Regions from separate parts of the Homo sapiens genome. Here regions 2, 3, 4, 5, 6 and 7 are each linked to region 1. The links are contacts of gene promoters, found by promoter capture Hi-C in blood cells and fetal thymus (Javierre and others, 2016). All regions are on one chromosome and are shown on one strand. Each heading gives the region's core, a stretch centred on a gene start or on the middle of the fragment in contact. The rest is flanking DNA. Distances are from core to core; before and after follow the strand shown. Region 1 holds the start of TGFBRAP1 (transforming growth factor beta receptor associated protein 1). Region 2 overlaps UXS1 (UDP-glucuronate decarboxylase 1). Region 3 overlaps UXS1 (UDP-glucuronate decarboxylase 1). Region 4 overlaps NCK2 (NCK adaptor protein 2). Region 5 has its middle 150 kb from the start of ECRG4. Region 6 has its middle 13 kb from the start of UXS1. Region 7 overlaps UXS1 (UDP-glucuronate decarboxylase 1).

Evidence for each region. Contacts are between HindIII fragments. The CHiCAGO score rates a contact against its expected background, and 5 or more counts as called.
Region 2: a fragment that was not itself captured here is called in contact with the fragment with the promoter of TGFBRAP1 in region 1 in 1 of 17 cell types (neutrophils); the score reaches 6.0 in neutrophils.
Region 3: a fragment that was not itself captured here is called in contact with the fragment with the promoter of TGFBRAP1 in region 1 in 1 of 17 cell types (naive CD4 T cells); the score reaches 5.4 in naive CD4 T cells.
Region 4: a fragment that was not itself captured here is called in contact with the fragment with the promoter of TGFBRAP1 in region 1 in 1 of 17 cell types (neutrophils); the score reaches 5.3 in neutrophils.
Region 5: a fragment that was not itself captured here is called in contact with the fragment with the promoter of TGFBRAP1 in region 1 in 1 of 17 cell types (neutrophils); the score reaches 5.2 in neutrophils.
Region 6: a contact is called between a fragment that was not itself captured here and the fragment with the promoter of TGFBRAP1 in region 1, in 1 of 17 cell types (naive CD8 T cells). The highest score is 5.8, in naive CD8 T cells.
Region 7: a contact is called between a fragment that was not itself captured here and the fragment with the promoter of TGFBRAP1 in region 1, in 4 of 17 cell types (naive CD8 T cells, total CD8 T cells, total B cells and 1 more). The highest score is 7.4, in naive CD8 T cells.

What each region holds. Positions count from the first base shown.
Region 1 is chr2:105,328,443-105,331,142 of GRCh38, reverse strand. TGFBRAP1 (transforming growth factor beta receptor associated protein 1) reads left to right here and starts at 1,408. Exons shown (of 12, transcript NM_004257.6): 1 at 1,408-1,518. RefSeq lists a silencer at 1,094-1,523. The HindIII fragment of the contact is 18,854 bases long and covers 1-2,700 here.
Region 2 is chr2:106,180,193-106,182,892 of GRCh38, reverse strand. The region is part of intron 1 of UXS1 (UDP-glucuronate decarboxylase 1); the gene reads left to right. Among named protein-coding and RNA genes, the nearest start is that of UXS1, 13 kb to the left of the region's middle. The HindIII fragment of the contact is 3,918 bases long and covers 1-2,700 here.
Region 3 is chr2:106,121,511-106,124,210 of GRCh38, reverse strand. UXS1 (UDP-glucuronate decarboxylase 1) reads left to right here. Exons shown (of 15, transcript NM_001253875.2): 9 at 1,120-1,241. Among named protein-coding and RNA genes, the nearest start is that of ECRG4, 57 kb to the right of the region's middle. The HindIII fragment of the contact is 3,071 bases long and covers 1-2,700 here.
Region 4 is chr2:105,885,396-105,888,095 of GRCh38, reverse strand. All of the region lies in intron 4 of NCK2 (NCK adaptor protein 2), which reads right to left. Among named protein-coding and RNA genes, the nearest start is that of NCK2, 140 kb to the right of the region's middle. The HindIII fragment of the contact is 1,818 bases long and covers 441-2,258 here.
Region 5 is chr2:105,914,519-105,917,218 of GRCh38, reverse strand. No RefSeq gene overlaps it. Among named protein-coding and RNA genes, the nearest start is that of ECRG4, 150 kb to the left of the region's middle. RefSeq lists an enhancer at 1,895-2,144. The HindIII fragment of the contact is 6,170 bases long and covers 1-2,700 here.
Region 6 is chr2:106,206,424-106,209,123 of GRCh38, reverse strand. No RefSeq gene overlaps it. Among named protein-coding and RNA genes, the nearest start is that of UXS1, 13 kb to the right of the region's middle. The HindIII fragment of the contact is 1,721 bases long and covers 471-2,191 here.
Region 7 is chr2:106,164,099-106,166,798 of GRCh38, reverse strand. It overlaps UXS1 (UDP-glucuronate decarboxylase 1), which reads left to right. Exons shown (of 15, transcript NM_001253875.2): 2 at 716-743; 3 at 2,000-2,063. Among named protein-coding and RNA genes, the nearest start is that of UXS1, 29 kb to the left of the region's middle. RefSeq lists an enhancer at 1,209-1,728. The HindIII fragment of the contact is 2,642 bases long and covers 103-2,700 here.

The DNA of each region.
Region 1 (2,700 bases), core at 159-2,658:
GTAGAGGACTAAGATACAAAAGCACAAGGGTGAATTCTAGGACCACCTGAGCCAGTGATTAGTTGATGACAAGTCACATAGTCTCTGTGAGCCTGGGTAAAATGAAGAGACTGGATTTGCTCTTGTACCTTCCCAATCCCTGGCTCCACTAGCTGTTGGCCACCTTAGACTTGAAGGTCCATTCACTGCTGCTTGCCCTTGAAGCTCAATTGCTGGTCAGAGCTTTACACTCCTGGGAAGCCAGTCCCCTACCTGGAGGCTGAGCCGGTGACACTGGTTCCACTGGGTCACAGCTGAAGCACCACTGGGGATGGGGCATTTATGTGGCCATGAGTCACACTAGGGTAGGGGTAGAGGGCAAGTCACAGGAAGATTGTTGGGTTTTTTTTTTTTTTTTTTTTTTTTGGCCAGTTTCTTTTCTTTCTTTTTTTATCCCTTTGAAACAGAAGACCATGGCGTACAATCTGGTATCTGCCTTCAGGGTTGGGATAATATCTTTGTTTTACAATACTCAGAGTGGCTGGAAGAAAGCTGAGGCCACAGGTCACTAGCAGGTTCTAAAGTCTGAAAATCCCTGGGAAAATTTGACTTTTTATATGCTAATAATTGAGTACTGACAACTCTGGAGGGAGCTTTCCAATTCTTCCGTCATGAAAGTGGACTTTGTATACTAAAGAGGGGTTCATGGATTCATGGTAACCTACAATTCTTCCTTGCGGCCTGAACCAAAGGAATAGCAGCTACAGTTGGGTTTTCCTAAAAGGAGTAAGATAGTCCCAGGCCTCCCTTCTCAAATAAGTGTATCAAGCAGGTGGACTCTGCCAGTCGGGGGTCCCGGTCAATCCCTAGGGCCCTGGGGCGCCATGGGCCTCGTGGGAGGGCTGCGCATCCCAACCATGCCTTCGTCTCCTGGTGGGGCACCGGCGGTACGTCCGATCCTCCAGCCCGCGTGGTCAGGCGGCCGCGGGCCCAAGCATTTCCCAGGGCCCAAGCATTTCATTCATTTATTCATTCACGCAGCAGGTATTTCCCGGGCGCCCTCCTCCTGTGTAGGTGACAGAAACTGGGTGGCGAGCGAGCCAGGCAAAGCCCGGCTTCCCTGAAGCTCCCCGCAGCGGCGGGGGCGGAGAAGAGACCTCAGCCCCGCGGGCTCGCACAGCTGGCGCGGACCACGCTCTCGCCCGGGGCCGGCGGCCTCAGCGCCCCCCGAATGAACACCTTCCGCCCGCTGGCCGCCCCGCGAGGCGGGCCGTGTCGTGGCCCCGGTGCACGGAGGGGGACGCCGAGGCCCGGAGCAGGGCCCGTCTCGGCCTGTGCTCGGAGCCAGGCGGCAGGGCCCGCGGGCCGGCGGGCGGCGCGGAGACGGCTGCGCTCCCGCCCTCCGCCAGCGCCTGGCGGCCGCCCCACGTGACGGGAAGCGGCGGCTGCGGGGTCGGGCCAGCCCAGGAGCCGCGGGCCGGAGCGGGGCGGCGGGGCCCCAGGCCGCGGGGCGGCGCGGGACGGCGGGCGCCGGCGCCGGTGAGTGAGGAGGGCGGCGGGGCGCGGGGTGCGGGGCTCAGGGCGCGGGGCGCGTGGGGCAGGAGGGCGGGGAGCAGGAGTGGGGGGTAGGCGGCGGGGCGGGGTGGAGGGCGAGCCCGTGCGTGTGCGCTGGGGCAGGTGTAGTGGGGGCTGGAACGCGGGGTGGGGGGAGCAAGTGGCTATACACTTGGGGGCAGGTGTGCGGGTGTGCGACTTGGTAGCTGTCCCTTGTGGGGGCCGGCTAGCCTGCTGGGGTGAGCAAATAAGTGTTCACGTGTGTGTGGGATGAAGTGTGCACGGGTGTGGGGTCAAGTGTGTATGTTGTGTGTGAGGAGTGCGTGTGTGTTTAGGGCAAGGGAAGACCTGAGAGACCTCGTCCTTGATTTGGGTTTTCCGGGGAGAAGGGCCAGGAAGGACTTGCACCTCCATCCCTGGTATGGAATGGTTTTGGCGCTGTGATTGAGGTTTCTGGGAGCTCTTTGGATTTGAGAGCTCAAATTCGGGTCACACTCAGGCCTGAATTGTCCTGATCTGGAGAGTAGGCAGGGGTGTGTTGGGGAGTAGGGAAAAGTGCTGTGCTGGGCTTCCTGGCCCCTGTTTTTAGCACCAGGTCAAGGGCTGGAAGCTGTCATCCCTGTGGAATTGTTTTCTTTCCATTGCCTTCTGGAGGTGCAGGTGCAAGTTAGTCCGCCTGCCTCCCTGTGTTAAGTGTTGATATCCTTAAACACGGAAGCTGTCCGGTTGTCTGCACCTGCCGTGGCTTCTACCCAAGGACTGTTGAGTGACCCTCAGGAAGCCTCCTACCTGGCTGCTAAAAATGGGGGCTCACAGATCACACAGCAGGCCTTACTGCACGTGGACTGCACGCGCAGCTGTGGTCAAAACATGTCTGAGCAGAGTTTAATCACTGATGAAGTGCTCATGGGCAAGCACCTTGTCTATCAGGAAGGAAGGCAGCTGCGGGTGTGATTGTGGTGGCAAGTTAAGGCACTGAGAAGGTGTGCAGGGAAGATCCTACTGCGTTGTGTGTGTTGGCTTGGTTGGAGTCAGGATGAACGAATGTAGAGGGACTGTGTGGTGGCTGCTACTCTCTCATGGTGGACATGCTTCTCTCTGTTGGTCAGCCGGAAGCTGGCAGACAACTGAGAGCTCGCAGTTCCATGGTCAGTCAGAAGGAACATT
Region 2 (2,700 bases), core at 88-2,587, 850 kb before region 1:
CCCACTATCCCAACGGAAGCGCTCTCTGCCCTCCTTAGGCTTCACCTTGCCTGCGTTCCCACCCCACCCCCACCCACCAGTGTAGATGCTGAAATGCAGCCCTCATTTTGGGCAGGAGAAGCAGCACCCAACTATCCTGCAGTGAGGCGTGAAGAGGGGAGATGTTCTCTCCATTTCATAGGTGGGGAAACTGAGGCATGGAGAATGAGCCCAGAGCACTGACAGCCCTCTGGGTTGGGGCACAGCTGTGGTGGCTGAGGATCATGCCCGTGGGTGCTGTGGTTTGGAGATGGTCCTCCTAGATCCCTCTCTCACCTTCTTTCCCTCTCTGCCCTTTTTGAACACAAAATGAAAAGGCTAGCTTAAAACCATTATTAAAATTTTTTAAGCTCCCATTTGAAAATTACAAAATACAGGAGAAATGAGAAAACAAGGTGCTCAATGTGGAAAAGCTAGAGAATGAAGTGCAAAGAAGAGAAAAATCCCAGACCTCATAATTTCTGCATATTAAATTGCCTTCCCATCCAGAAATAGCGCCTAGCTTTTCTTTACCAAACTTGTTCAAGCCACTGCCCGCGGGCTGCATGTGGCCCAGGACAAATTCATAAACTTTCTTAAAACATTATGAGTTTTGTTTTGCTTTTTTTGCTCTTCAGCTATTGTTAGCGTTATATGTGGCCCAAGACAATTATTTTTCCACTGTGGCCCAGGGATTCCAAAAGATTGGACACCCATACTTTAGATAGACCTTTCTTTTGGCCCTCAGCAAAGTTTTGTAATTTCTTTCTTTTGTGAAGTGTATTTCCATCAAATTTCTCTTTCGCATTCATTCTACATCAAGATCAAGTATCAAATATATTACTAACAAAACTTCTTAACAGTAAGCAATAAAATGAGCCCTGAAGTCATAATCCATCTTTTAAAAAAATTTCTCCTTTGCCTTTTGCATTAATCCTTAAGTTGTATACTTTGTTCCCATCTTCTTCTTAACTTTTAGAAAGTGCCCTACTTTCAGAAAGAAATAATAGAGCTTTACATGTTACGTTGGATCCCAGCGTTAGCACTCCTAGGTTTCTTAGATCATAGTAGTTCCTCCTAAAAGTCGTGGTGAGAAGTCTGAATTTACTTTTTCTTCTTAACTAGTATGGATTTTTAAAAAAATTTATTTATTTTTTTTGAGATGGAGTCTCACTCTGTAGCCCAAGCTGGAGTGCAGTGGCGCCAGATTGGCTCACTGCAACCTGCCCTCCTAAGCTCAAGTGATTCTGGTGCCTCAGTCTCCTGAGTAGGAGACTACAGGCGCACGCCACCATGCCCGGCTAGTTTTTTGTATTTTAGTTGAGACAGGGTTTCACCATGTTGCCCAGGGTCGTCTCGAACTCCTGAGCTCAGGTGATCTGCCCGTCTTGACCTCCCAAAGTGCTGGGATTACAGGTGTGAGCCACCACGCCCCGCTTGCCCCAGCTTTCTTTGCCTTAGGCATTCTAAAAATAGATTCATTAACGGTTATTCTCAAACCTAATCGGTGGTGCTCGCTGGAGCCTGCTGAGAAGGGAGCATGTGCCGGGAGCTGGGGCCTGTTAGCAGTTTTCAGAGAGAGATGAGGTTCCAGAGCCCCGCCCTGAGCCAGGGACGTGATTGGCAGCGGGGAAGAAGAGTACAGGGCTGCTGAGGGATGTGCCTGTAAGGATGAGGGCCCTGATGCTTAGCCTCACTGGTGACAGGTGTGGGAGGGATGAAACTCCAGTGACCTCTCCGCAGCCCACCCTGTGGGATGCCCCCATGAACTAGGAGGGATTCCCTCCCCTTGGTTTCCCTCTTTTTCTTTAATGTATCTGTTCGTTCCATCAGAAAACTAAGGAGATTCATTCATTTGGTAACCTTAGGGAAAGTATATTTCATTTTCCATTGTTATCGTTTGAGGTAAAATATTGTCACATATCCTTAGGTGGAGCCTACATCTCTTTAAGTAGAAAAAGGCAAAAGAAATAGCATGGTAACATTTTCTACCATGCCACACCAGGCATCATTGATATTTGCGAAGTTGGGAGGAGAGGAGGAAGGAGAGTCCACTTCTTTGTTGTCTGTAGTAATTTGCAGGATCAAAGTCCATTTTTGCTTTCTGGAGTTCAGAAGTGGTCTGGAATTTTTCTATTTCTTTCTCCCTATTCTCCCCAAATTTGATGGTATCCTCTGGTATTTCAGATGAAGAGATGTTTTGTGCTTGTTAAATGGTGACGCTGGACTAGAACCTCGAGTGAAATGTGTGAGTGCAACGTGTTTCCAAGTTTATTGGTGTCCTGCTTCCAATGACAGAAAGTACTTGATTTTCTCAGGTGGAGATGTGCAGATAGTGTATCTTATTTCCAGCTCTAAGAATTAGTCACATAATTGTTACTGAAATACTTATTGCAGAGCTTTCTCTCTGTAGTATTTTTGCAGCCAAATCCTAAGTTGAGGTGGAGAACCTGGGAAGGTACTTGGTGGTTAAGGGTGGTTTATAATTTGGATAGTGACATGCAAGGGTCATTGATATTTTACATATCTTTCTGGGGCTTAGTTTTAATTCATAATTTTAACAGTCAAACAGTCTGGAAGTATATGGAAAGCATCGCTCCCTTCCAGCTAATCCTGTTCACCTTCCCGTGGGTTACTGGTTGTTTCCTTTGCATTGTACCATTTGTAGAATGTCTTAGGTGC
Region 3 (2,700 bases), core at 143-2,642, 790 kb before region 1:
AAAGGTCTGGGATCAATCATCTGGTACATTCTGTGAATTTAAGTCAATGGTTCCTTTCTCTCAGGAAGTATTTTCCTTAGAACTTTTCTCTCACTGAGTAGTGAGAAGTTTGCTCTTTGAAAGGGAATTTTAAACCACAGCAGCAGATACATAGACCTTTCTTTGCAGCACACTTCTGCATTGCTGCGGAGGCTGTGCTGACCCAGAGGGATCGGCTGAGCAGACAAGTGGCAGGATACCTGTCTGTTTACCTCCCTGCACCTGCTCAGGCCCACTGAGTCCCAAGTCAGACTTCAGGGGTAAGATAAACAAGATGGGAATTTATAACAATGCATCTTTTTGTCCAGATTTCGTGGCAAAGACTTATACATTTTATATCATAGTTGTACTCAAGTATGTATAAAATTCTTGGTGTACTAAATAAATTAGGTGTATATTCATATTCCAGAAATATACTTGTGTGAATAAAAGAATTTGTTACGTGTTTTCTTCCAATAGTCTCTTCCCCTGGTATGTCTTAAAGTGTGATTGATTTATACGCTAGAGAAACAGGAATTGGGAGTGTAAAATGAGGGCTAGAAGAACAGGCACCCATTTGCCAGGGGCACCCCGTCCCTCCACCTGCCCTACAGGAGCCTCCACGTTGACTTGTCACGGGTCCCAGATTTGTTCTGCTGATGGCACATGTCAAAGTCATCATGTTCCAGAGATGCTGCGTTTTTCATTTTTTTTCAATAAATACATGATTTGCTCCAGTTATCAACTTTATAAATATAAAACAAAACCACATATCTCTTCACATAGATTCTATTTAATTGTAATTTGTGTAGCACTCTGAAAGTTAAGAACAATTTACGGAAGAGAGGGAAGACTTAAAATTGGGAGACCTGATCTTTTTCTTTTTTTTTTTCCCCTGTAAGTAAAATATTGTCATTGCTTAATATCATATCCTACTGGAACTCAAGAGAATGGACTGGAAACCTGAGGTTGCCTCTTTAATACATCTCTCCATCTCTAAATGGGTCTTTCCGAAGTTCCCTTTTGCATCATAAATATGCATTATTGATATGAACTGGAAAAAGGAAAGATGAAAACAGTCTCACTTTTCTCCCATCGTAGATCCTGAAGTCCACCCTCAAAGTGAGGATTACTGGGGCCACGTGAATCCAATAGGACCTCGGGCCTGCTACGATGAAGGCAAACGTGTTGCAGAGACCATGTGCTATGCCTACATGAAGCAGGTATTTCACCAGGGTCTAGGCTTGCGGTTTAGGCGTGCTGAGCACCCTGACCTCAGATGTAAAGTGTTGTAAAGGAATGAATGCCATGACTGATTTTGTCTGGGGATAGGTGTTTGGGAAGCTCAGTTTCCCAGTATTATAAATTAATGGTATTATCAACAGCTTTTTCCATGTATCTCCTTATTTTAAAAATGATTTCCTAGAGATCAATTCTTGGGTTTGGAATACTATTTTATGGCTATGAACAGAATGCTTCTTCATTGCCAGTTGCTCACCAGCAGCTAAGAAGTACCTCTTTTCCTGAAGCCTCCAAATCAATGGATCTTCTTTTTTTACTTTTCTATCAATTAAGTAAAAAAATGGATGCGTTATTGCTGTAATTTGAACCTCTTTATTGTTATTGATATTTATTTACTGTTATTTCATGCTTTCTTCATTAGTCATTGTTGTGCTGATGATATTTTATGTGACAGATTTGGTCACCTGCATGTTATAGCAGAAATTGCTCACAGACCAAGAGGCCGAGGTTGCCACACTGGCTGTGCTGCTGTGTGACTCCAAGATTTAAGCCGTCATTCTCTCAGTTCTTATCTCTGACACAGGGTTTGTGAAGCCTGCCCTGCCCATCTCAGGGTGGTGCAGGAGCCAATGAACTGTGCAGAGAAGGTGGAGGCCTGGGCACAGGATATCCCATTCATGTTCTCACTGAGTGTGTCCTTGGGCTTGGGTCTGAATTTTCACATCCTCATGAAAATGCCCTCTGGTATAGTGGGACATGCAGGTAAATCAACATGGCTGTGGAACGTTGGTCCAGGACAGGCTGTTGGTAGATGCAGTGTCTGTTTCTGGGAGCAATGCTGTCAGGCCCAGGGCCCAGTCTGCAGGTGAGCCTGGGGAACTGTCGGCTATGTGCTCTGTAGGAGGGGCAAGTGTCATCAGCATGGCCAGCATCCAGGAGTTTTCCTGACTGTCTGTCTCAGGCCCCGGCAGAGCCCCAGTCAAGCATGTGCCAAGGGCCAGGTCTCCTGTTCCTGACCTTGGGATGAGAGTTTAATCGACTTCCCTTCCCGTGGTACCACAGAGGACAGGGCAATGTAAAGCCAGGTAGGCTCTCTGAGGGGTAGGAGAGAATGTCGAGGACTCTCTTTCTCATCATGTGTTTAATGAAATGCCAGCATTAAAGATGCATAAATTAACCTTATGCTATTGTTTATATTTAAACTTTTCTGCTTTATTTCTTGGCCAGAAGCAGAACTAATTGCCTTCTAAGCGACTTTAGTCTGTTGGCTTACATTATCCACTTCCTCTATGAAATGCCGATCAGTTTTAGTAGGAACATACTTTCATCATTTTGGGGCCCAGAATATCTTGACTCAAAAGTTTCAGATGATCTTCCAGACACACAGGACCACTCTGTGTGCATGGGTACTTAGGAGTACTGACTAGAGTGTCAGGGGTA
Region 4 (2,700 bases), core at 100-2,599, 560 kb before region 1:
TTAGATTCTGTGTTTGAATACAACTAAGTGCAAGAACCCTATTTAGCTCCACATCCCCACACCGGGCTCAGAGTATCTGGTGTTCAACAAACGTGCAGACTTAAAAATTTCTAATTTTGACTACCTCTTCCATTATTCATTCCTTTAGGTAATTCTTACACCTCATCTCTTTGCAATTTGTGCTCGCGATAAGTGGGTACTTTTAGAAAAGAACAGTAGAGAGCACACTCTTTGATCCCATCTCTATGGCTTTGCCAGCTTGATCCATTGCCTCAAATACTTGCTGAAAAGCACCTTTGCAGTTTTATAAAACAGATGTCCTGATCAGATACGCCTCTCCCTCTCTCAAGATTTAATCATTGTTTTCTCATAGAAGGAAAAAAATGAATGCCGAGGACAGACTTTAATATCCTTTATTTCCTCCTCCATTCCTGAAAGCTTATGTATTAATGCGATTTTCTTCTAAGCACAATAGTCATGAGGAAACGGGAGGGAGGGGCCTTGCTCCAGGTACTTTTGGTTCTTTAAACCTTAAAACTTCTCCTTATCTTTCACTTTGGACTTTATGAAATGATGAGGGTAGAAATGCCCTTTGTGTGATTCACCAGGCCTTCCACACAGACCCTGGACTGATCTCCAGCCACGCTGAAGTCTCCAAGCATCAATAATCTACACATCTCCTTCTACCCCCAGAGAGAGGTCACCCTGTTGGTTTCTTATCACAAGTTGTATCATTCTTTTCTTTTGGTAAAGACATGTTTTTCCCCTTTTACTTCTTTACAGAAGGCACTCTTCTGTCCACAGAAGTGGTTCATTTACCTCCCAAAAGTGAGAACAAATGGGTTAGAGGCAAATCGTGATCCACTGATTAATAGTTTCTCTGTTTTTATCTCAGAAAAACTGCCTTTCAGTTTTACCATTCTATTTGGTCACCTGCCCTAGTTGTCTAAGGTAGCCTTCTTTTAATAAAAATTACTCCTGCCTATACTTATGCTGCTAGCTGTCAGTTGACCCTATGTTCTTTGTTTTTACATCAGATTATCTCTTCCTTGCCCCAAGTGTGAAGAGTCTCACCAGCTTTTCCTATTCTCCTATCAATGTTCACTCTATAAAATATTTACTCCACAGGCCTGAAGCCAATCCACACTGACATGTTCAAATATTCATCTCATTAACTTTGGAAGTAATCTTATTTACATAAATGAAAAGTCAATCATCAACTACAGAGCAGCTGTCCAAGTCCCATCTACCTAATCTAGGCAAACGGAGCGTTCCCTGTCCACTTTCCAGTTAGTATGCATGTGTGTGGTTAGCCCTCCCTATCCCCAAATGTATTTCCTAAAGTCACATGTAATACCTCACCATATAGACCTGTAGAATATTGTCCTTGTTATTCTTTGTCTTTCCATAGTGTCATACCTGATGTGACTGAGTGATACATTTAAGTCAGAATTTTACCATATTACACAACAGTATGCAAAAGGGCTTGAATCAAGTGCATACTCCACAACGTAGTGGTTCTCAAATTGGCGCATCAGAATTATTCAGGAGTTCATAGGTTCTCAGGATTTGGAACAAAAAAAGGACTCAGAGGGCTTCTTCAAACCAAGGTTGCAGAGCCCTACCCCAGAGATTCGAAGTCAGCAAGCTGGGGCAATCTGCATTCTAGCAAGTTTGCTGGTGATGCTGGATGTTGTCTGTTTTAAAGGTCAGCATTGAAGAGCCAGCCAGAGTGAGAAGGCAGAGTCTTCAAGGGCTCTGGCCCATTTGAGAATCAGAATCAGGTGATGAGCACTAAACTTCCAGATAACAGCCTGTACTGCATGATCTTGCAGGCCTTTCCATCTTCAAGAGTTAAATATGCTTAAAATTAGAACTATTACAAAAATCCAGGCTTAAAACTTCCATTTGGTACTGGGCAAAAAGCCTGGCAATTAAAAATAACTTGTTATCTTTGAAACTGGAAAGATGCCTACAGGCACTGCTCACAGCAACCTAAGGTTAAGTCATCTTAACATTAACTCATTTATGAAGAAACACCATGGATCACGGAGCCTAACCATGAAACCCTGGAAGCAGCTTTCACATTGCTCTGACAATCTACCTCCTCCTAATTCATCAGCAGAAACACAGCAAATACAGCACGTTTATTTTCAAACTCTAAACAGTAAAAAACAAACAAACAAAAACACAAAAAAGCCCCCCAAAAAACTCAACAGAAATATACTTCAAGAGATAAATCCCACTCAACAAAAGCTTCAGTTCTAAATGAAGTTCAGCTTTATGACAATATTTTTATAATTCATGGAAATGTAGTATTATGCAGAAATGGTTTTAATAACAGCTGCAAGAATATATAAAACCACTAAGAATGCATCATAGGGATCAAGGGTTTTCAAAGTGTGGTCCCAAAAGCAGCAGCATCACCACCAAGAAACGTGCTATTAATAGAAATGCAAATTCTTGGGCCCCAGACCTCCTGAATCAGTACCATTTCAGGTAGGACCCAGCAATTTGTTTTAACAAGCTTCAAGGCAATTCTGATACACACTACATACAGTTAGAGAATCATTATTTAGAGAAATGGAATGATGAAATTGCCTGAAAATAGAGTTTTGGGTAAAAGTTATAATTTCTTTAAGAAATATTATAACTTTAAAAATACAGAAAGGAGCTATTCTATTTTATTTCCCAGCCAAA
Region 5 (2,700 bases), core at 150-2,649, 590 kb before region 1:
GGTCACTTTCAGCTGGACAAGATTTTGGAATCCTGTTGTATGGGAATTTTCAATTATTGAAACAAGACTGGTTTTGTGCTTGAAGGGGCCAAAAACATTGGGAGACTTGCTCAAGATTTCATGCACAGGCAGGAAAGAAGGAAAGAGTTTAAAGGAGCCGTGGGAGAATCAATCATTCTCTGCTTGCCCCTAATGAAGCCAGCTGCAGAGAGCACTGGTAAACACAGTCACTCACAGTTAATCTAGGTAGAGGAATTTAAAATACTACCTAGGCACAAATCTAAAGTGCTTCTGCTGTGAGAAGCCAATGTCAGATCACTGAGGTCTCCACTCACTCAACATCTGGATATTGAGGACCATGAGTGCTATTAGCGCCCTAAAGGCTGTGTTTAGGACACCATGTTTTACTAAAACTCTTATCTCTAAGCATCAAGATCCCACCCGGTGTGGCAAACATCTGAGACCCAGTAAGAGAAGAGTGGGCTTCCATTTCCTCCCTCACACTCACCTGGAGGCAAATTCCATGCCCGCAGCAGAGGAGCAGTGGAGTCACCTCCACTACAGGATTTCAATGTCATTTCTCTCATTCTCCTTCCTTCCCCAGCTCTCTCTGCCTGCATACTTGAATTTACATGGGCAGTGTCGAAGGAAAATAAAATCTTGGGATCCCAATTAACGATGCCAAAAGGAAAAAACTAAGCTGAAAGTGGAGTAATGCAAGACCTTTCCTTTTGTTCCTAAGCAGATAGCTACAGATAAAAAGTAGCTTCCCAGGTAGCTACTCTATGTTCATCTTATCCTTACATAAAGTGCCAATTTACTGAGCATGAGAGGAATATCTAATTGACTATTCCCCTACCTGCTCCTTTTCTCTTTTTTCCTTTTCTTTTTTTGAGACGGAGTCTCGCTCTGTCACTCAGGCTGGAGTGCAATGGCACAATCTCGGCTCATTGCAAACTCCACCTCCCAGGGTCAAGTGATTCTCTTGCCTCAGCCTCCAGAGTAGCTGGGATAACAGGCACCCACCACCATGCCTGGCCAATTTTTGTATTTTCAGTAGAGACAGGGTTTCACCATGTTGGCCAGGCTGGTCTTGAACTCCTGACCTCAAGCAATCCACCCGCCTAGGCTTCTTAAAGTGCTGGGATTACAGGCATGAGCCACCTTACCTGGCCCCTTTTCTCTTGCAACCCATGGATTCAATAACGTGACCATACCCTCCCTCTCTCCCCTCCAGCCCACTTTCCCCCTTTAAATATTGAAGCCCCCAAAATCATCTTTGGAAAAAGACATGGACCACAGACTGTTCCTGTGGCTTTGTGTTCCTTTTTCCTGGGCATGTCCTTATCCTCGGCAAAATAAACTTTTAAATTGTTTGAGACCTGTCTCAGGTACTTTTTGGTTTATAGTAGCAACATGTATGCATAATGCAAATGTACTTGTATTTCATTATACATTTATTTGTTCTTATTACACAGGTAAGCCATTTTTATTGTGAGAAGACTCAGAAGATTCAAATACATTTGAAGGGGAAAAACACTCTCATCTTCCTTATCTCCCAACCTTAGTTTATAGGTGCTTCTATGTCTTTAATTAACTGGCCTATTTCTAGATCTATCTGTTTTGGACATGAGATTTCTGCTAAGATGGGTGAGGATTTCATTTATTTACACCACATTTCACCTCCCCTTTCCCACCCTTTCAGTTTCTCACATCACTCTTTTCTTTCTCTATAGGTTACCTTGCTAACTCTAGGCAACTTACTTAGACTTTTAGCCACTGTTTATCAACTACGGAAAGGCTCTCTTGGGCTTTTCTTCAGCAGTCTTCCCCTTTTCACTGACTAACTTTTCATCTGTAGTTTCTCTTCTGCATTGTTAAGGTCAAGAACATTTCCAGATGCCAGCAGCCACTCCATCTGCTATGCTTCTTCCATTTTGTGAATCAGCATTCTCTCAAATCTGAAAATACTAGTTGCATTCATTTTCAAGTGAGTGTTTCTTGAATTAGCTCTGTTTCCTCAGTTGTCAGTTCTTCTATTTTTAGACTGTTTTCTTTAGGTTTTGATAATCATTGGTCGTTTGGTCACCTGCTTGTTGAATGCTACTTTTGTTTACCACAGCCTACCTCAAGTGACAGGTAGAATCTAGGTAACTTGTCAGTCTGGAGTCAGAAGCACCCACAAGCCACCACCCTGTGTTCCACACACAGTGCCTTGGGCACCTGTGGATAAACTAGACTAAGTAGTAGACACTGCTGGGGCTGGGGTTCTAAAATCAAGACTGTGCTGACAATATGGCCTGGACTCATCTTGAATGCAGGAGCTAGAAAGCAAGAAATGTAGCTCTGATGACAGGCAGGAAAGAACTTGACTGAGTAAAAGCAGATATAAACCACCAAAGAAGATGGGCCGCAGAAACCTGCTTGGGACCTATCTCAGGCAGACAGTATCACGTCTTCTTCCAGCTACAGTAGGGCTTCATGGCATCAGACCCTATGTCTGGAAGTAGTTATTCATTAAATATTTACTGACCATGTACATTATGACAGGTGCTGTGCTCCTCTCTGGGGTTACATACACAAATAGGACATGTCCTTCACACAAGAAGCTCATCATCTATGGGAGGAACACATACATTACAGCATGGTGTGGTAAATGCTACAATGAAAATGTGCACAGATCTATGGGGGATCACACAT
Region 6 (2,700 bases), core at 82-2,581, 880 kb before region 1:
ACAGACCAAGGGCTTATCTACAGTACAGTTCACTCCTGTTGTTTGAAGGATAAGTTAGATATGAAGGCATTTCCACATTGATGACAGGCATAAAGTTTCTCCTCCATGTAAGTTCTCTGGTGTTTATAAAGTTTACAGCTACTGCTGAAGGCTCTTATGCATTTATTACATTTCTAATGTAGGTTCTCCCAGGTTGTCCATAGTCAGAGAATTGACTGAAGGCTTTCCCACATATCTGACATTCATATGATTTTTCTCCCCTATAATTCTTATTTTTGGTGTGTGTGTAAATCAAGTGAGAGCTCTTGATACAGGAGATAGAAAGAAATTATTTAGGCAGATAGTGAGGGCAAAAGAGTCCTTGACAGAACTTCCCTTCTAACAAAAAGCAGCCCAAGAAATCATTCCTTTTTTAACAAAGAGAAGCCTGAAAGATTGAGCTGCAAGCATTGATAAGGAAGCTGGAAGCTTGCACTGGGGGAGGCCTATAGCTACACCCACAGAAAAGGGCTACCTGGGGCCAGGCATGTCCACCATGGGGCTCCACCTTCCCTTTTTTTGTTACCATGTATACAGTCCGAAAGAAATAAGCAACATGGAGTAGCTACCCACCTGCATAATAAAAGATTGGGGTGGGGGCTGCCAGAGATTCATGCCCTGTGCAAATGGCACAATTGGTCCTAACCAGATTTTCATGCCCTATGTAGATCAGACACCATCTTCCCATTAGCTCATCTATAAAAACCCCCTGCATTTCACCAGAGATTGGCAACCCATTTTCCTGGGACCCCTCTCTGTAGGAGAGAGCTATCCTCTTTCTTTCACCTATTACAGTTCTGCTCTAGACCTCACCCTTGTGTGTGTCCGGGTCCTTAATCTCCGTGGCCATGAGACCAAGAACCTCCCCCCAGACAACAAGGCCACTTCACTGTGATCTAAAATCCTGGTCACAGTTACTTTATTTCTTTAGTGCAAATTCTCTTATGTTTACTAACCAGAAATTTGACCACACTCTTCCACATAAATGACATTCATATCATTTCTCTCCAGTGTGAATTTGCTTGTGTTGACTGAGGGATAAAGGATAACTGATGGCTCTTCCACCGTCATTACACTTACAGGATTTCTCTGCAGTGTGAATTATGTGGTGTGAATAAAGCTGAATGCTCAGGTGGAATTCTTTCCCACATTTACTATATTTACAGAGTTTCTCTGTCATGCAAGTTCTTTGGTGTGAATAAAGGTTACACTTTGTCTGAGATGCCTCCCAAATTTATTGCATTTATAAGGTTTCTCTTCTGTGTGAGTTCCATGGTGTGAATAAATTTGGTGTTCTGACCAAAGTGTTTCTCACAGTAATTCCATTTAGATGGTTTATCTCCAGTGTGGATCTTCTTGTGTTGTCTAAGGCCAGAGTATGTACTAAAGACTTTTCTACATAGATGACATTCATATAATTTCTCTCCAGTGTGAGTGGGCTCCTGTTGTCTAATGTAAGATCAATGATTAAAGACTTTCCTGCATAGATGACATTTATAAGGTTTAACTCCAATGTGAGTTGATTTATGTCAACGAAAGGACTAGCAGTCACTGAGAATCTTTCCACATTGATTACAGGCATGGGGTTTTTCCATGTGGGCTATCACATGCTGAGTCAATGTGGAGCTGGGATGGAGATTTTCCCACACTCACTGTATTCAAGGGCTCCTCTCCAGTGTGAGTTCTCTGTTGTTGGGAAGGTGACAGGCTGCTGAAGGACTGATTACCCTCATACTTTCATTAATTTCTCTACAGATAGATTCTGGAATGATCATTTCGTGATAGTCTCCAGTCAAAATCACTTCCATATTGCTATATGCAAATGTATGTTAGTTACACACAGACTCTCTTGCTTGCACAGATATTTTCTCTTTTGTAGCATCTCAACGGTATAACTATCTGATGTATTTTCAAGGCTTCATTATTTTTCAAAGATGAGGTATCAGCCATGTCTATGCAATTGTCCTTTTATAAAGAATTCAGGTTATAATTTTGAGCTCAGGTTAATTTCTTTCCTAAATTCAAATATCCAAAACCATATGAAGGGACACACTCCCAGCTCTAATTAAAGCCATGTGACTGTGGTGTGTTCCTAACTCAGCCCATCCCCAGGTCTCTAATCTGGAGGAACAGGGTTCACCCCCATGAAGCTTATCATTGACAAGCAGGTAGAGGGACTCCTTCCTCCAGAGAAAGTGTATGGATACCATTTCTTGTTTTTAAAGGCCACCCTGCCTGCCTAAAATAATTGAAAAAATTAAATTGCTAGACTGGCATTAGGAGAATGAACACACTGAAAAGGATACAAGGCTCACGTGGGTAGGTTTCAAATACTGGCTCTCACATGGGAGAGACGTGAAATGGAGGAATACACCAGTGACTAGGAAGACATTTGGGGAAATTAAAAATTTTAAAGTATTTTCAAGAATGAAGAGAAAAAATAAAGATGTAATATTGGAGAGGTCATGAAAAGGAAAATCATCAAAGGGAAAGGACCAGGGCAAAGGTCACAATGTGAAAATTTACCTCTAAGAAGACATGAATATATGTGAATGAAACTGGTACATATATGAGAAATAATAACATTATATATGGAATTTTTCTCCCAATGGCTTCTCATAGTTTTCTAAAAATATTATTCATTCAAGGTCATCTGCATTC
Region 7 (2,700 bases), core at 174-2,673, 840 kb before region 1:
GCAGTCCCACTTACTCAGGAGGCGGAGGCGAGAGGATCACTAGAGACCAGACTGGGTAATAAAGGGAGATCTGTCACTTGGAAAAAAAAAAAAAAAAAAGCTTCACCTGCACTGTCCAACTCTAGACCCCAAAAGAGGTATTCCAAAACTGCAGGGATAGATAGAAAAGAAAAACAGCTCAGAGCAGTGTGAGCCATGTGAGGTTTGCAAAATTTATCAGGCTGGAGAGTCATGAGCACGGAACTAAAGTCATGCCCTGCCATGCCCAGGGCCGGTTCTTTAAAGGTATTTTGTTTCTGCCCAGCTGCCTCAACCAATTATCTTTTTCCTGGGATTTTTGATACAAAAAACAATATATGGCCAATCAGTAGCTTATGTTATTTTAATGTAAATTCTTGATAACTTAGAAACTGCCTTTTCCTTTAAAAGCCCACTTGTCACTGCTGCTGATGGGAGCATATATTCAGGGCAACTTGAATTGATGTTCCTGGGTTGCAGTTCTCAAACTTGGCCTGAATAAACTCTACGATCCTGTTTTTACTTATTTTGTAGTAAGATTTAATTGTTTTGAAAACAAAGTATGCATTTTGTTGTCTTCGTAAGTTAATTTTCTTTGTAAAATTTAAAATATTGGTTAAAATTTAAGATTCCATCCATTGGAATCCCTGAAAGTTGTGGACTTAAACATTGACTTCCTTTTTTCTTTCTCTTACAGCTGTTTGGGGCAACTTCGTTAATATGAGGTAATTGTTTTTAATTACTTGGGTACTGTGGTTGGATTTTATAGACACATTTCAGTTGGTACATATATACCATGGATGTCATGGGTTAATTGAAAAATATTTTTAAAACAAAAGTGGGTTCTTGCTATTCACATATCTGAGCTGTTTCTTTTCTCCTATGGGTATTCTCAAGGAATGCAGCTGATTTTAACAATTACCAAGTAAGGCCCACAAGTAAAACAATGGTCGGCCACCCCCGCTTCCCTCCTTGTGTAGATAATAAAGGGTTGACCCTAGCTTATGTAAATTGTATTTCTGGGTGGATTGAGCAAGAACACTGAGGGGCTTTTGCAAAGCCTTCTGAGAAGGGAGCTGTCTTCGGGAAGCCATGGCAGGCCCATGACCTCAGGGGGCCAGCTAGTGGGTATCGATGCAGAGACCACCTATTTAGTCCAGCGTTAGGCCTGTATGCATCGTGTGTGCTTCTTCATAGGGCAGGAGGCACTCTTGTAAAAATAAAACTCGTGTTATCTCTTTACCAAATAAAAAAAAATAGCCTTTAAAAAAATCAGCAAAAAGAAATAAGCACTTATTGTAAAAACCATTTGGTACTGTTAATAGTTTTCCATGTAAAGGAAAATTTGCTCCACTTGGTTATGTTGTGAGAATCACTATTGTGATGATTAGGTTGGTATTGTAATGTAATGCGGCTGCACATGTCTACCAGGGTAAAAGGTTACTATGCCCTCAGGAGGCTTTTCATGTGGAGTTGGGTTTTGCAAGGTGGGTGGGATGGTGTCGATTTGATTCCTACCACCAGGGCATGTGTGTGTCTCCTGACAAAGGCTGCTGTGTATGACTAGGTGGGGTGCTCAGATCCCTTTTAAAGGAGCTCTGTGGTTTTACTTAAAAGACTCCATTTTTACATTAAATCCCCAGGAAAGCCCAGCAGGCACAAACACATACTCCTACAGACGCACTTCCTGCTTCAAATTTAAAATCCTGTGTTGGATGTAGCATAGCAGTGAGATTATTTTAGTTTAGTGGAAATAATCCATTAGGTAATACTGAGCATGTTCACAGATGGATTTAAGGGGAGTCCTTCCCTTTGGTTGTCTTCTTTTCCTCTGGTGCATCCCTTCTGGAGGGAATTGTACACATGACTGATACTTGAGCAGGAGACAGAGGTGGTCTGCATCCGTTGGGTTATGTTAGGGTAATTTATTCAGAAACAGTCTTAAAGTCACAAAGCCTTTCAGTTGATCTCAGTTTTATAGCTTTCTACTCAACAGGTCTATCCAGGAAAATGGTGAACTAAAAATTGAAAGCAAGATTGAAGAGGTTAGTCTTTTTTCTATTTTTGTATCTATTTCATCTGTATACTTGTCAATTTTACTTCCTTTGCTCGTGCTGTCATTCTTATTGTGGCAGCTTGATGCTGTTCTGTGATTTTGCAACCGTGTCTCAAAAAATTACTCCCTTATTTAAGAGGACATGCAGTCTGTTACTGTTGGTCCATTTTTGATGTATTAAAACAAATTCTACCTCAAAGGCAAAATGGATTTAGACTTTTACATGACTTTTCAGGTAAGCGTTTTTTAGAGAAAGGGAAGTGATTGCCTTTGGGAGATAGAGATGAGTACAAACATCCTCTCACTGGCACAGGTGCTGAAAAGAACAATGGCCACCAATCGGATGCTAGGCCACGTGCACAGATGGAGACGTTGCACACCCACCCAGCTGAAGGCTAGCACCTATGCTCAGTTATGCACCTCCTATTTAAATACATGTAGATACAGCCAGACCGTTGTAACATGGGCTGTGGGGGAGGGGATGGGAGGTTACTTACTTTGGATTTGAAGCCAACTTAGGGAGTCCTGGGAAGCCCTTGAGTTGCTGTCTTTCTGCCTGAGTCCACAGTGTCTACAGACGTGGATGTAGGTTGACTCACAGCCTGCAATTTATGTGCTGCAGCTGA